Linked DNA regions of Homo sapiens: region 1 is linked to region 2. The links are contacts of gene promoters, found by promoter capture Hi-C in blood cells and fetal thymus (Javierre and others, 2016). All regions are on one chromosome and are shown on one strand. The core of a region is centred on a gene start or on the middle of the fragment in contact, and the rest is flanking DNA. Distances in the headings are between cores, read along the strand shown. Region 1 has its middle 15 kb from the start of GABARAPL1-AS1. Region 2 holds the start of KLRK1 (killer cell lectin like receptor K1).

Region 1 (6,135 bases), core at 3,445-5,944, 160 kb before region 2:
GTGGTTCCTTATTTCACTGTCACATGACCCCCCCCCCCCCATTGGACGAAATATGTGGTCACTCTCTATGTAGTATAAACATTGAAGCCTCTTCCATCAAGAGAGACACAATGCCTGTGCCATCCAGGTTTAGTGCTCCCCAGTATGGGTCTTACCCTGTCAGGTGGAGGGAGACTAGACAAATCATTCTACTTGTGAATGGCAGTCTATTCTGCTTTTCTTGATTTTTCCCCCAACCCTGACTTGTTTTCCTCTTTCAAAGCATTGTGCTTTCAAAGCATTGTTAAATTTTTTTACTGTATTGTGCAATCAGAAGTTAAGATCGCAAAAGAACAAAGCAAATTATGATTAATGTACAGTAGTAACCAGGCAGACAAGATCACTGCCTCATGCACTGCCTCATCACTATAAAATATGAATAGAGCCCCCCCAGAGTGGTGCAGTGCAGTCCCCTGGTCACTGCAGTGGCCCTTTGGACACAAGTCTTGTCAGTTACAGTTGTCTTGAGAGTGTTACACTTATTAAGCTTACAATTCTGCATTCTATTGGTACTGGTACCATCAGATAGAACAGGTGTGTTGTAATTTTGAAGTGGTGTGTGGAGGGGGGCCATGCATATCCACCTGCCCGTGGGTACAGCATCAAGTCAGCTGTAATAATGACAAATTCAGTCATTTTGGAAAATGAACTAGTTGATAAATTCATATTAGTTCTTATACAAAATTTGTAATTAACTATTTCTAGCTGTGGTTTCTTTTGGATGTTTTTGCTTTGCCAGATTTAAACAAGCTACAAACATTTATTTAACTTTAGTTATTTTTAGCTGCATGAAACTACCAAATATTTCAGAAACAAGTCCATTTTGCCTTTGGTGGTTCTGAGTCCAGGCTGTCTGAGTAATGGAGAATTCCCTCCTCACCTATGCCCACTGCCCAGCGACCCACCCCTTTGTTTACCTTTGATAAGTAGCTGAACAACAACAACAAAAAGTCCACACACACAAATACTAGAATCCCTGTTCCAAAAGCTGTGACTGATGATCTCAGCTTGGTTACCCTGTGTAGGGCCCTGCCTCATTTTCTTTTCCTTTTTTTTTTTTTTCCTCCTGGTTGTGGGCACTTCTTAAGTATATGTACCCATGGCTAGATTATTTTCAGAGTTTGAAATAACAGGAAGTTATCACCCTTAAAAGTAGTCAAATGACATTTCACTATGCCATTGTGCAGGTGTGCATGTTTTCAACAGTGACTAACAAAAGACAAGTCATTCTCCTGGTGTGTTTTCATCACGGTGGGGCCATCTATTTCAGTAGTTCTGTTTTCAAAAGCAGTGTATTTAAGACCCTTAGGACTTCTGTTTAGAAGTACTTAGCTCCTAAAACTTGAATAAAGTGATCCTGAACTTTTGGGTGAGAAGTTGAAACATGTTTTCTATTTTTACACTTTTAGTAGGCTCAAAGTTGCTTCATACCATTCAGTAAAAGAATGATGATGGCTTTATTGCTTCTTTAAGCAATATGCACATGGTATTCAAAGGATAAAAGTAACAATAAGCCATATTTTACGTGCTAAAATTGGCTAGTTCCTAACCTCCTTCAAGTCTTAGATACTATGTCAAGGAGACCAACTCTGAACATCTCTAATATTCAACACCTTCCCCCTACTTCCCTTTCTCCTAGTCATTCTCAACCTTGGTCTTTGTCTTTTTTGCTTCGTAGTGATCATGTAACATAATTTTCTAGTTTATTATGTCTTCTCTCTCTAGATCCTGAGGTGCAGGAAGGCAGAAACTTTTTGTGTAGTGATATACAACAATTGGTCAGAACAGTGAATGGCATATGGTTGGCATTCAAAAATATTGAAATAGTAGTTTTTGATAGGACTGAACCACTAGGCAACTTAAATTATCCAGAAAGACATGTTACAAACAGGCCAGTCAAGGAACTTTGGGAAACACTTGGAGCTTACTAGAAAGATGTCCTGGAGGCAGGAAACAACTTGAATCCCAGCTCTGCTGCTTGACTAGAGCTAGGACTTGGGCTAGTCTGTCATCTGTACAAATGAAATTTGCATTTCCAGGCTGGGCGCAGTGGCTCATACTTGTAATCCCAGCACTTTGGGAGGTTGAGGCAGTCGGATCACCTGAGGTTAGGAGTTCAAGACCAGACTGGCCAACATGGTGAAACTCTGTCTCTACTAAAAATACAAAATACACCTGTAGTCCCAGCTATTTGGGAGTCTGAGGAAGGAGAACCGCTTGAATCTCAGAGGCGGAGGTTGCAGCGAGCCAAGATTGTGCCACTGCACTCCAGCCGAGGCAACAAAGCGAGATTCCATCTCAAAAAAAAAAATTCTGCATTTCCTTTTCAAGTAGATAAGATAATTACATCATACATTGTTGCGAACACAAGTAAATCCTTTGCAAACCATTAAATAGCATTCTCACATATTAAGATTTATTTTACTTGAAACTGAAATTGCAATAACTGGCCAGGCAAGGTGGCTCACGCCTGTAATCCCAGCACTTTGGGAGGCCGAGGTGGAAGGATCACCTGAAGTCAGGAGTTCGATATCAGCCTGGCCAACATGGTGAAAACCCGTCTGTACTAAAAATACAAAAATTAGCTGGGCACGGGGCATAGTGATGGGTGCCTGTAATCCCAGCTACTTGGTAGGCTGAGGCAGGAGAATCTGTAATCCCAGCTACTTGGTAGGCTGAGGCAGGAGAATCGCTTGAACTGGGGAGGCAGAGATTGTGCCATTGCACTCCAGCCTGGGCGACAAGAGCAAAACTCCATTTCAAAAAAAAAAAAAAAAAAGGAAAAAAAGGCAATAACTTAGGCTAGATGGCAGAAATCTTTCTGATTGTTTCTCTTTTTTGTTTATTGGTCACAGCAAATGCAGGATGTGGCATGGATCAAGGAAAACAAAGCAGAATATGCCCAACTGGATAGCTCAAAAGACGGCTCTGACACTGAGGGGGTCTCTTCCTTTCTGTTAGAGTCTCCTTTAGCACTGATTTTCTTTCTTTTTTTTTTTTTTTTTTTTTTTTTTTGAGACAGAGTCTTTATTGCCCAGGCTGGAGTTCAGTGGTGTGATCTCAGCTCACTGCAAACTCCAACTCCCAGATTCAAGTGATTCTCCTGTCTCAGCCTCCCAAGTAGCTGGGACTACAGGCGCCCGCCACCACGCCCGGCTAATTTTTTGTATTTTTAGTAGAGACGGGGTTTCACCGTGTTAGCCAGGATGGTCTACGATCTCCTGATCTCATGATCCGCCCGCCTCGGCCTCCCAAAGTGCTGGGATTACAGGCGTGAGCCACTGTGCCCGGCCAAATATTTACTCCTTGATTTAACCCACTGCCACTACTAGGACCAGTGGCACTCACTAATTCACCATAAATTGGGTAAACAGTTACCTTGTTTTTATTAATCTTTCTTAAATGTATGTATAACTCACATTTATTTAAATGTTAAATATTAGAAATGTTTGGGTCTTGGCTGGGTGTCGTGGCTCACGCCTGTAATCCCAGTACTTTGGGAGGCTGAGGCGGGTGGGTCACCTGAGGTCAGGAGTTCGAGACCAGCCTGGCCAACATGGTGAACTCCCATCTCTACTAAAAATACAAAAATTAGCGAGGCATGGTGGCGGGTGCCTGTAATCCCAGCTACTTGGGAGGCCGAGGCAGGAGAATCGCTTGGACTTGGGAGGCAGAAGTTGCAGTGAGCTGAGATCATGCCACTGCACTCTAGCCTGAGCAACAGAGTAAGACTCTGTCTCAAAAAAAAAAAAAAAAAAAAAAAGAAAAAAGAAATGGTTGTGTCTTTTCTGACCAGAAACATGCTGTGGGAAAGTAACTCTTGTTTATATCAATTAGCCTATGATCAAATTAGTCTCATTACATGTTATTTTGCCTAAAGTCATAGTTACCAAGAATCTATTGATGTTAAGTGAGGACTTACTGTACAGAAAACAGCATTTTAAACACAGTTTTATCTATGCAAATGGAATCTTGAGACTACTAGATAAAGTGTTATGAATGAGAGAAATTAACAATCAGTATAAAAATAAGTCTACAATCCAGCATATCTCAGCCTAACAAGGAATGAAGACCTGGGGACCATGATTCGGGTATTTTGTTTGTAACAGATTTATTGGGGCCTATCCAAGGAAAAGTTAAAAATGATCCTTTGAGTTTTTAAAATTTTATTTATCTATGTATGTATGTATTTTCTGAGACACAGTTTCACTCTGTCGCCCAAGCTGGAGTGCAGTGGCACAATATTGGCTCACTGCAACCTCCGCCTCTGGGGTTCAAGTGATTCTTGTGCCTCAGCCTTCCTAGTAGCTGGAATTACAGGCACGTATGTCACCATACCTGGCTAATTTTTGTATTATTAGAAGAGATGGTTTTGCCATATTGGCCAGGCTGGTTTTTTCGTTTTTTTTTTTTTTTTTTTTTTAGATGAAGTCTCACTCTGTCACCCAGGCTGGAGTGCAGTGGCACAATGTCAGCTCACTGCAACCTCCGCCTCCTGGGGTCAAGCGATTTTCCTGCCTCAGCCTCCCCAGTAGCCAGGATTACAGGCGCCTGCCACCATACCTGGCTAATTTTTGTATTTTTAGTAGAGATGGGATTTCACCATGTTGGCCAGGCTGGTCTCGAACTACCAGCCTCAAACTCCACCCACCTCGGCCTCCTAAAGTGCTGGGATTACAGGCGTGAGCCACCGCGTCTGACCTCTTTTAATTGTTATTTTTTGAAGTTGGATAATATTGGTTTTTTACAATCGGCTTATGACTGCTCTAATGTTGGGAGTTTTGTTTGTTTGTTCTTCAAAAACAAAAACAAAAACCCTGGGTCTTTATTGCTACATTCAATTAAAATCCCTATCCATCCTACTGAACAAAATCAATCTCTGCAGTGCTTTCCAACCCTGACTGCACATGACCATCAGTGGTGAGCTCCCAAAAACGTCTGATGGCAGAGCCCCACTTCTGCATCACTCTTGGGGAGGACACCGGAGGGTTTGGCATCCATACTTTTAGTTTTTTTAATTTTTCCCCCCACCGCCCCCTCCCTATGCTATAGGCTCCTTTTTATTGAGGTAAAATTCACATAATGTAAAATTCATGGCATCTTTACTTTTTACAAGCCTCTTAAGTGATATGTATAGCCAGGGTTGTGGTCGACTCAACTGGGTGCTCTTTGTTTAACAACACATTGGGAACAGTTCTGGAAATAGCCGCTTGTGATGGTTAAGTTTATGTGTCAACTTGACTGAGCTATAGGGATGCCCAGATAGGTAGCGAAACATTATCCGTGGCTGTTTCTGTAAGGGTGTTTCCGGAAGCGGTTAGCGTTTGAATCAGTAGACCTAGTAAAGAAGATCCTCTCCCACCAATGTAGGCAGGTGTCACTCAATCCATTGAGGGCCTCCATCGAACAAAAGTTAGAGGGTAGAGAGTCCCTCTTTCTGTCCATGAGCTGGGACATCCACAGCTCCTGGTCTCAGACCTTTAAACTTGGATTGAATTATACCACTGACTTTCCTGGTTCTCCTGCTTGCAGACAGATGGTGAGGTTTCTCAGACTCCATAAGCCTCCATGAGCCAATTTCTATAAGAATAATAAATCTCTCTCTTTATTTATATGTAGATATTTATATACATATAGTCTTTATATGCATTTATATCTAGTCATGTGCTACATATAGATATTTCAGTCAATGACAGCCTGTATACATGATGGTTATCCCATAAGATTATAACACCATGTTTTTACTGTACCTCTTCTATGTTTAGATATGTTTATATACACAAATACTTACCATTGTGTTCCAATAGCCTGTGCTGTTCACTCCAGTAATGTGCTGAATGGGTGTGTAGCCTAGGAGCAATAGGCTATACCGTATAGCCTAGGTGTGTAGTAGTTATATCGTCTAGGTTTGTGTAAATACACTCTATGATGTTCACACAATGATGAAGCCCCCAATAACACATTTCTCCGAACATTTCCCCATCCTTAAGTGACACATGGCTATATATAACATTGGTTCTATTTCTCTGGAGAATCTTCACTAATACAGAACTCCTCTTCTGAATTTGCCTTATTTTACTTTTAAATAAAATAAGT
Region 2 (6,339 bases), core at 1,584-4,083:
ATGCCATGGAAAGTACCCTTAGCAAAATCCTATATACTATTAAAATTAGTTAATTCGTAATGTATAATGAAACCTAACATTACCAGAAAGGGACTTGGTTAGTGAAAAGGCAGATGTAGGGAGAAAGACATGTATTTAAATCACAGATCCACATATACAAACTTGATAACTTCACAAATAACCTAGCTTTTGCATCCCAGTTTTCCTAATTTGCAAAAGACGAAAGAAATAAAAAAGAAAAGGATACTGTCACAATCCAGTATGGGTATTTTAAAAATAAAATAAAAATATAATGAACTTAGCATCAATAACATCAATCATTTAGTAAGCTTTTAGTAAATAGCAGTGTGTCTAATTTTCTTCTTTTCTTTTTTTTTTTTTGAGATGGAGTGCAATGGCGTGATATTGGCTCACTGCAACCGCCGCCTCCTGGGTTCAAGCGGTTCTCCTGCCTCAGCCTCTTGAGTAGCTGGGATTACAGGCTTGTGCCACCATACCTGGCTAATTTTTGTATTTTTAGTACAGACGGGGTTTCACCATATTGGCCAGGCTGGTCTCGAACTCCTGACCACAGGTGATCTACCCACCTCAGCCTCCCAAATTTCTGGGATTATAGGCATGAGCCACTGTGCCCAGCCATCTAATTTTCTTTATAATGAAGGACATACATAGGCTAAAATAGTGGGGTCTAATGATTTAGAACAAAGACAGATAATCTTGCCTCTGAACAAAATACCTAAAGAATCATTTTGCTCTCTTGAAATATTAATTATTTACTGATGATTAATATTTACTTAAAAGCCTTTTTTAAACTTTTATTTTTGGTTCAGGGGTGCATGCGAAGGTTTGTTACATATGTAAATTCATGTCACGGGGGTTTGTTGTACAAAAGCCTTTTATAAATTAAATGATAATATGAATTATATTTTATAGGTAAAATTAGACATTGATTGCGCATGTAATACCTAACTCAGTTATTTTACATATGGAGTAAAGAGAGTAGGTATCACTTTATGGATGAAGAAATTGAATGCTAGAGATGGCCAAAATCATAAAGCTTATTTAATATAATGTTACCAACTGTGAATAAGTTATAAATTTATAAACACCTTTAGGATAAAAAGTGCTTTAACATACATGTCAGTTGATTTGAATATTACACAAATCTAAGATAAATATGGAATGTTTCATGCCTGTATTTGATAGAAAAAGAAACTAAACTAAACTACACAGAGGTTGCAAATTGACCCTTCAAATCTAGAGAGCGGTAAAAGTTTGAGTAAAATTCAAGTCTGACTCCACATCTATTTCACTATTTCAAGCTGTCCCAAGTTGTGAGCGACTTTACCATAATATAGTTAATAAAATAAAGGGAAAAAAGTTTTTAAGTTTTGGAAGACTTGATTTAAAATACAATATGAACATAACATGAAATCAACATAAATAGAACATGAAAAGAATCAGAGTAAATTGCTTGCCTATGCCTTATATGCTTGTATGAAATTCTTGGTATCTTAAAATTGTATAAAAACAAAACTACACACTTATGTGGTAAAAACATACCCCAGCTGTGTCGAGACCTCCGACCACGAATCCACCCCATCAAATACTTATAAGTGCACGTCTACCGCAGAGAGGAATCTAAAGTCTTCAATGCACAAAGGATTCCTGAATAAAATAAAACTGGGCATTTGTTTTTTGTTCTCTTTCCCGTGGTGAGATAAAATATTTTGAATAGAAAAGTAAAATGCAGAAACTTTTCCCCTGTGCATGCCTTTAAGAAAAGAATAGAAATGACAATTCACATAAAGCCAGGCAAAATTAATTTTATACATTTCTCTTGGTTGTAAAATAATCGCCAATTACTTCAAAATGTCATAACAATATAATGAACCTATTAATTCACCTACATTGAGATATTTAATACCAATATTTTACTTTACTGATATTAGATAACAACACACCCAGTTTTCTGTTTATAGTCGTTTATTGCTTCTTGGCCTTTTAGCTAAGATCAAGTGTTTCCAGTTGTTTATTTTATCTGGCAATAATTTAGTTTTCTTTCTGCAAGCTAAACTCAGGTAAGTTATATGCACTTTTGTTGAATGTCCTTTTCTAGTGCATTTTAATCCAACGTGCCCATATCATCATCATCAACAAATTATCATCACCATCATCATTAACAAAACTAATCTCACATGTTTATATAGTAACATCTTAGCAATGCACAGCAGAGCTTCCAGAAAAAACCATTTAATAAATAAGCATAGTGCTTAGATTTCAAAAATAAAAGCTATTTCATATTTGATTATGATAGTTGGAAAGCACAGATATAACTTGTTTCACCTTGCATGTAAAGATGTGTATCAAAGGTAAGTGCCCCCTACAGCATCAGAAAACTCAAAAATTTGACAATTTAAATTGAATCTCAATTCTTCTCATCCTAAATGTAAAGATTCATTTTTCTAGTTTTGCTTAGAGACAAGGCTTCTTCTTATAGTAATATTACAACTTCTGATTCTTCAATAAGTATATCCTAATTACCTATCATCAGATACAGTGATAGAATATACATCAGAAATGATAAGCATTCCGTATCCTCAGGAGTTCTATTCAAGCATCTAAGAAACAATTAGAATTACCTTATAGTGTAAATATTTTTATTTTTTTGAGGTTGAAATATAATTTCTCATATCTTGAATAATAAACACACACACATACACACATACACACACCTGCTCAGAGAGGGAAGATCTTGATTCTTGTGGATAAAAGCCTTCTATAAAACTAGAAAATTTAGATATGTCCTCAGTTCCTGATCTAGAATTGAAAGTGGAGATACTTAGTGAATTTCTATCTTTGAGAAAGATGTGACAAATATTATAATCTCATCTTCCTGTGGAAAAACATAAACCACAGTACTTCCGCCTTATCACTACAAAAATATTGTTAATTTGGTAAAAGAGTTAAGACCACCCATTGTTGGATAAATGTTAGGTTGGTGCAAAAGTAATTGTAGTTTTGCCATTATTTTAAATAACATTTTAGGATTTGAAAATGATGAATTTAAATGATGCCATTTAATCCTAAATATTTTAGAGATTCAATTCAATTCCAGTTAATACCTCAGGTTTTGTTGTAGAACTTACAAAGCAGAATTCTACATGTACATTAAATTACAAAAGTCAAGACTAGGAAAGTCACAATTGAAGATGAAGAAAATGTGGGAGCCTTGTTTTACTAGATAGTAAGACCTATGTTAAAACCGTATTAATAAAGGCAAAGTGGCATGTGGGGCATAGATAGACAAATTGAGAAGGGTAAAAATACAGACAAGAAAAAGTCATGTGCATAGATTAAAAAATATAAGGTAACATTGCAGATAAAGTGGGAAATTAGCTCCTATTCAATAATTTGTCCTGGGTTACTATCACACTGGCCTTTAAGTTACAAAAAATTAGTCCTGGGAATTTTTAAATTTTAATATAAAAAACATGAAATTGCATCTCTGTCATATCTACATCATATGCAGGAGAATTAGAAACTTAAATATATACCCCAGTATACATAAGAATAATATATGAATTGATACCAATGAACAAGATAAGCTAAATATATATTTTATGTTTATTAATTTAAAATACTAACATAAGACATCATATAAAGTAATATAAGATGAACACATTATAACATTTTAACAAAAACCAAAGCTATTAATCTTAAAACTCTGAAATATAAGGAAGGAAAACAGCTTTCATGTGGTGATGTGTTAAAGTTGGACAATAAATTTATTCAACATTTTTTTTCTTTAGCGAATGCTATTTGCTATGCACTTTTCTAGATCTTGAGAATGTCAAAGTAAACAATCCAAAAGAAAGTTTTTGCCCACATGGAAATTAATTACTTTTTTTTTTTTTTTTTTTAAGAGATGGAGTTTCACTCTTGTTGTCCAGGCTGGAGTGCAACGGGGCGATCTCGGCTCACTGCAACCTCCGCCACCTGGGTTCAAGCAATTCTCCTGTCTCAGCCTCCAGAATAACTGGGATTACAGGCATGTGCCACCACACCTGGCTAATTTTTGTATTTCTAGTAGAGACGAGGTTTCACCATGTTAGTCAGGCTGGTCTCGAACTCCTGACCTCAGGTGATCCTCCTGCCTCAGCCTCCCAATGTGCTGAGATTACAGACGTGAGCCACCACACCCAGCTGGAAATTACTTTTTAGTTTAGGTGATATAAAATGAATAAGTATAAAACAAATTCAAAATTAAACAAGATAGGTGAATATAAAACAAGTTGAAGAAAATATGTTATTTTCTGACATACCAAGATTCTTTTCAGCTAATCAACATTTTCTATTAGCTATTTTATATAGTAAAAATAGATCTATATAGAGGAAATATAGGCTGATATTTTCTAACAACTACATTTTAACAAATATTTGGTTTTTGAAAGGAAATGAATAAATGAGTAAATGCAGGCTTTTTATGGGAAAAACCTGAATCACAATTTCCTGAAGAGTTATTTTTATATATGTAGTTTTCGATTGAATAGAGATTGTCTCTTAAATACAGAATTGAGAAAAGGGGGATAGGAATAGGATAAAAAAGAACATTTGAATATCCTACCTATTTCGTTTAGTTCAAATGGCAACTTACAGCCAACTGGGAAGTCCCCACACATACCTAAAAGAAGATTTCTGAAATAAATACCATGATAAAGCTAAGCACCAGGGAGAGTTTTATTGTCATATATAAAGGTCCCTAAACCAACTGACAGAGTGTGGAAAGGATTCTTAAAGAAGAAAATTCTAAAATGGGTCCTGTATGTCGGGTTAAAACAATTAGTTAGATAAAGAAATAGTATGTTAAAACTCCAATTTCTTTCTCAATGTTGAACATACACTCACTTTGCTGTAGTCATGATAGTAAACTTATTGGGGATTTGCTGGGCATTTGTACTGGTTTATTCTATGTGAATTGCAAAAGGACATAGCATAGTTTTCAGATAAAATACTTTCTAATAAGTGAAATAAAACCAACGCAATTAACTTCTGCAGAAAGAATAATTTGACTATAAAAGTACCTGAACAAACTTCATATAGACGTATCTATATAACTTTCAAAAACTATTGTTAGAAGAAAAATTACAATATTTTGCAAACAGCCTGGGCTCAAGTCATTTGAGAACATCCATCACCACAATAAACTATTTAATTACTTTCATTAGTTGAGAAGAGCCAACAATCAACCGGCCTTTTTGGTCAGTAAGCTAACTCGCACTGTGGCCTCAGAAAACCCTTCTCTTCTGGTACACAGGAAAGACTTAACACGCAGCCAACTTGTGGTTAGAAACAGAGTGCTTGGCAGGTTGCTGGCTTCAAGCTGTGACACTAAAGCTGGATGTGGTCAGAGGCGTTTACTGGACGCTTGCCCAAATATGAAAGCTTAAGATGTGCAGCTATTGCCAAGCAAAAATTTTGTAATCTTGACCTTTTGGTAAATGTGTTTGAATTGACAAAAGACATGTCAAAAAGGACAAATTTTTAAAATTCACATGGACAATAAAGAAAATAAAAAGGAGTGGAAGAAATAGAGCTGAGTCTTTGGATATGCAGGGGCATCTATGGCCACACCACCATGATGCATCCAGTCTCGTCTGGACACGCATGGGCATATTGAAGCAGAAGTGAAATGATGACTAATGTAAAAGTAAAAAAGTCTGCAAACATATTTTAAGAAATATGTATATATATATTTTCAGAACCTATTTTCCATTCAGCTAGGTATTAAGTACTGGGCTACACATACTGACATATAATGTTAACTGGTGTATTGTAATTATATGAACTCAAGGCAGAGATTCCATAAATCTGGAATTTATACTTTGGGGAAAAACAGGTCATCATCTTGGCAATTAATTAATTTTCTCTGGCACAGCTTCCTAAGCCAGGAATGATTAAATGATTTTTTTGCCCCATCTCAGTTGAAATTTTGTATAATTCTAAAATTTAGCAATTCAATTGAAATATCTTTAGCAAATATTTGTGTTATATTAACTTAATCCATGCTAGGACACACCATTGTTTTGATTGTTTAATTGCAATCTATATGGTATAACGGAACAGAAAAGTGTTTTTCCCACTCTGGTATTATCTTTATAATTGTGCATAAATAGCCATACATAAATAGTAACTTTAAACAATTGCTCTCAAGTAAGTCACATGCATGATTTGCAGGTCAGATGACATCATATTTTTTATTAGCATCCTGGTTACTTTTCTCTGATTGCTTATTTGATTGCCATTAAACCTTCCATTTCCTGCTATAGTGATAATCTC

Evidence for each region. Contacts are between HindIII fragments. The CHiCAGO score rates a contact against its expected background, and 5 or more counts as called.
Region 1: a fragment that was not itself captured here is called in contact with the fragment with the promoter of KLRK1 in region 2 in 1 of 17 cell types (naive CD8 T cells); the score reaches 7.0 in naive CD8 T cells.

Annotation. Positions count from the first base shown.
Region 1 is chr12:10,226,626-10,232,760 of GRCh38, forward strand. No RefSeq gene overlaps it. Among named protein-coding and RNA genes, the nearest start is that of GABARAPL1-AS1, 15 kb to the left of the region's middle. The HindIII fragment of the contact is 8,341 bases long and covers 525-6,135 here.
Region 2 is chr12:10,387,208-10,393,546 of GRCh38, forward strand. It overlaps KLRK1 (killer cell lectin like receptor K1), which reads right to left and starts at 2,834. Exons shown (of 8, transcript NM_007360.4): 1 at 2,736-2,834; 2 at 1,564-1,668. The coding sequence starts at 1,603. KLRC4-KLRK1 (KLRC4-KLRK1 readthrough) reads right to left here. Exons shown (of 13, transcript NM_001199805.1): 6 at 4,628-4,684; 7 at 1,564-1,668. The coding sequence starts at 1,603. The region is part of intron 3 of KLRK1-AS1 (KLRK1 antisense RNA 1); the gene reads left to right. The HindIII fragment of the contact is 4,388 bases long and covers 1,056-5,443 here.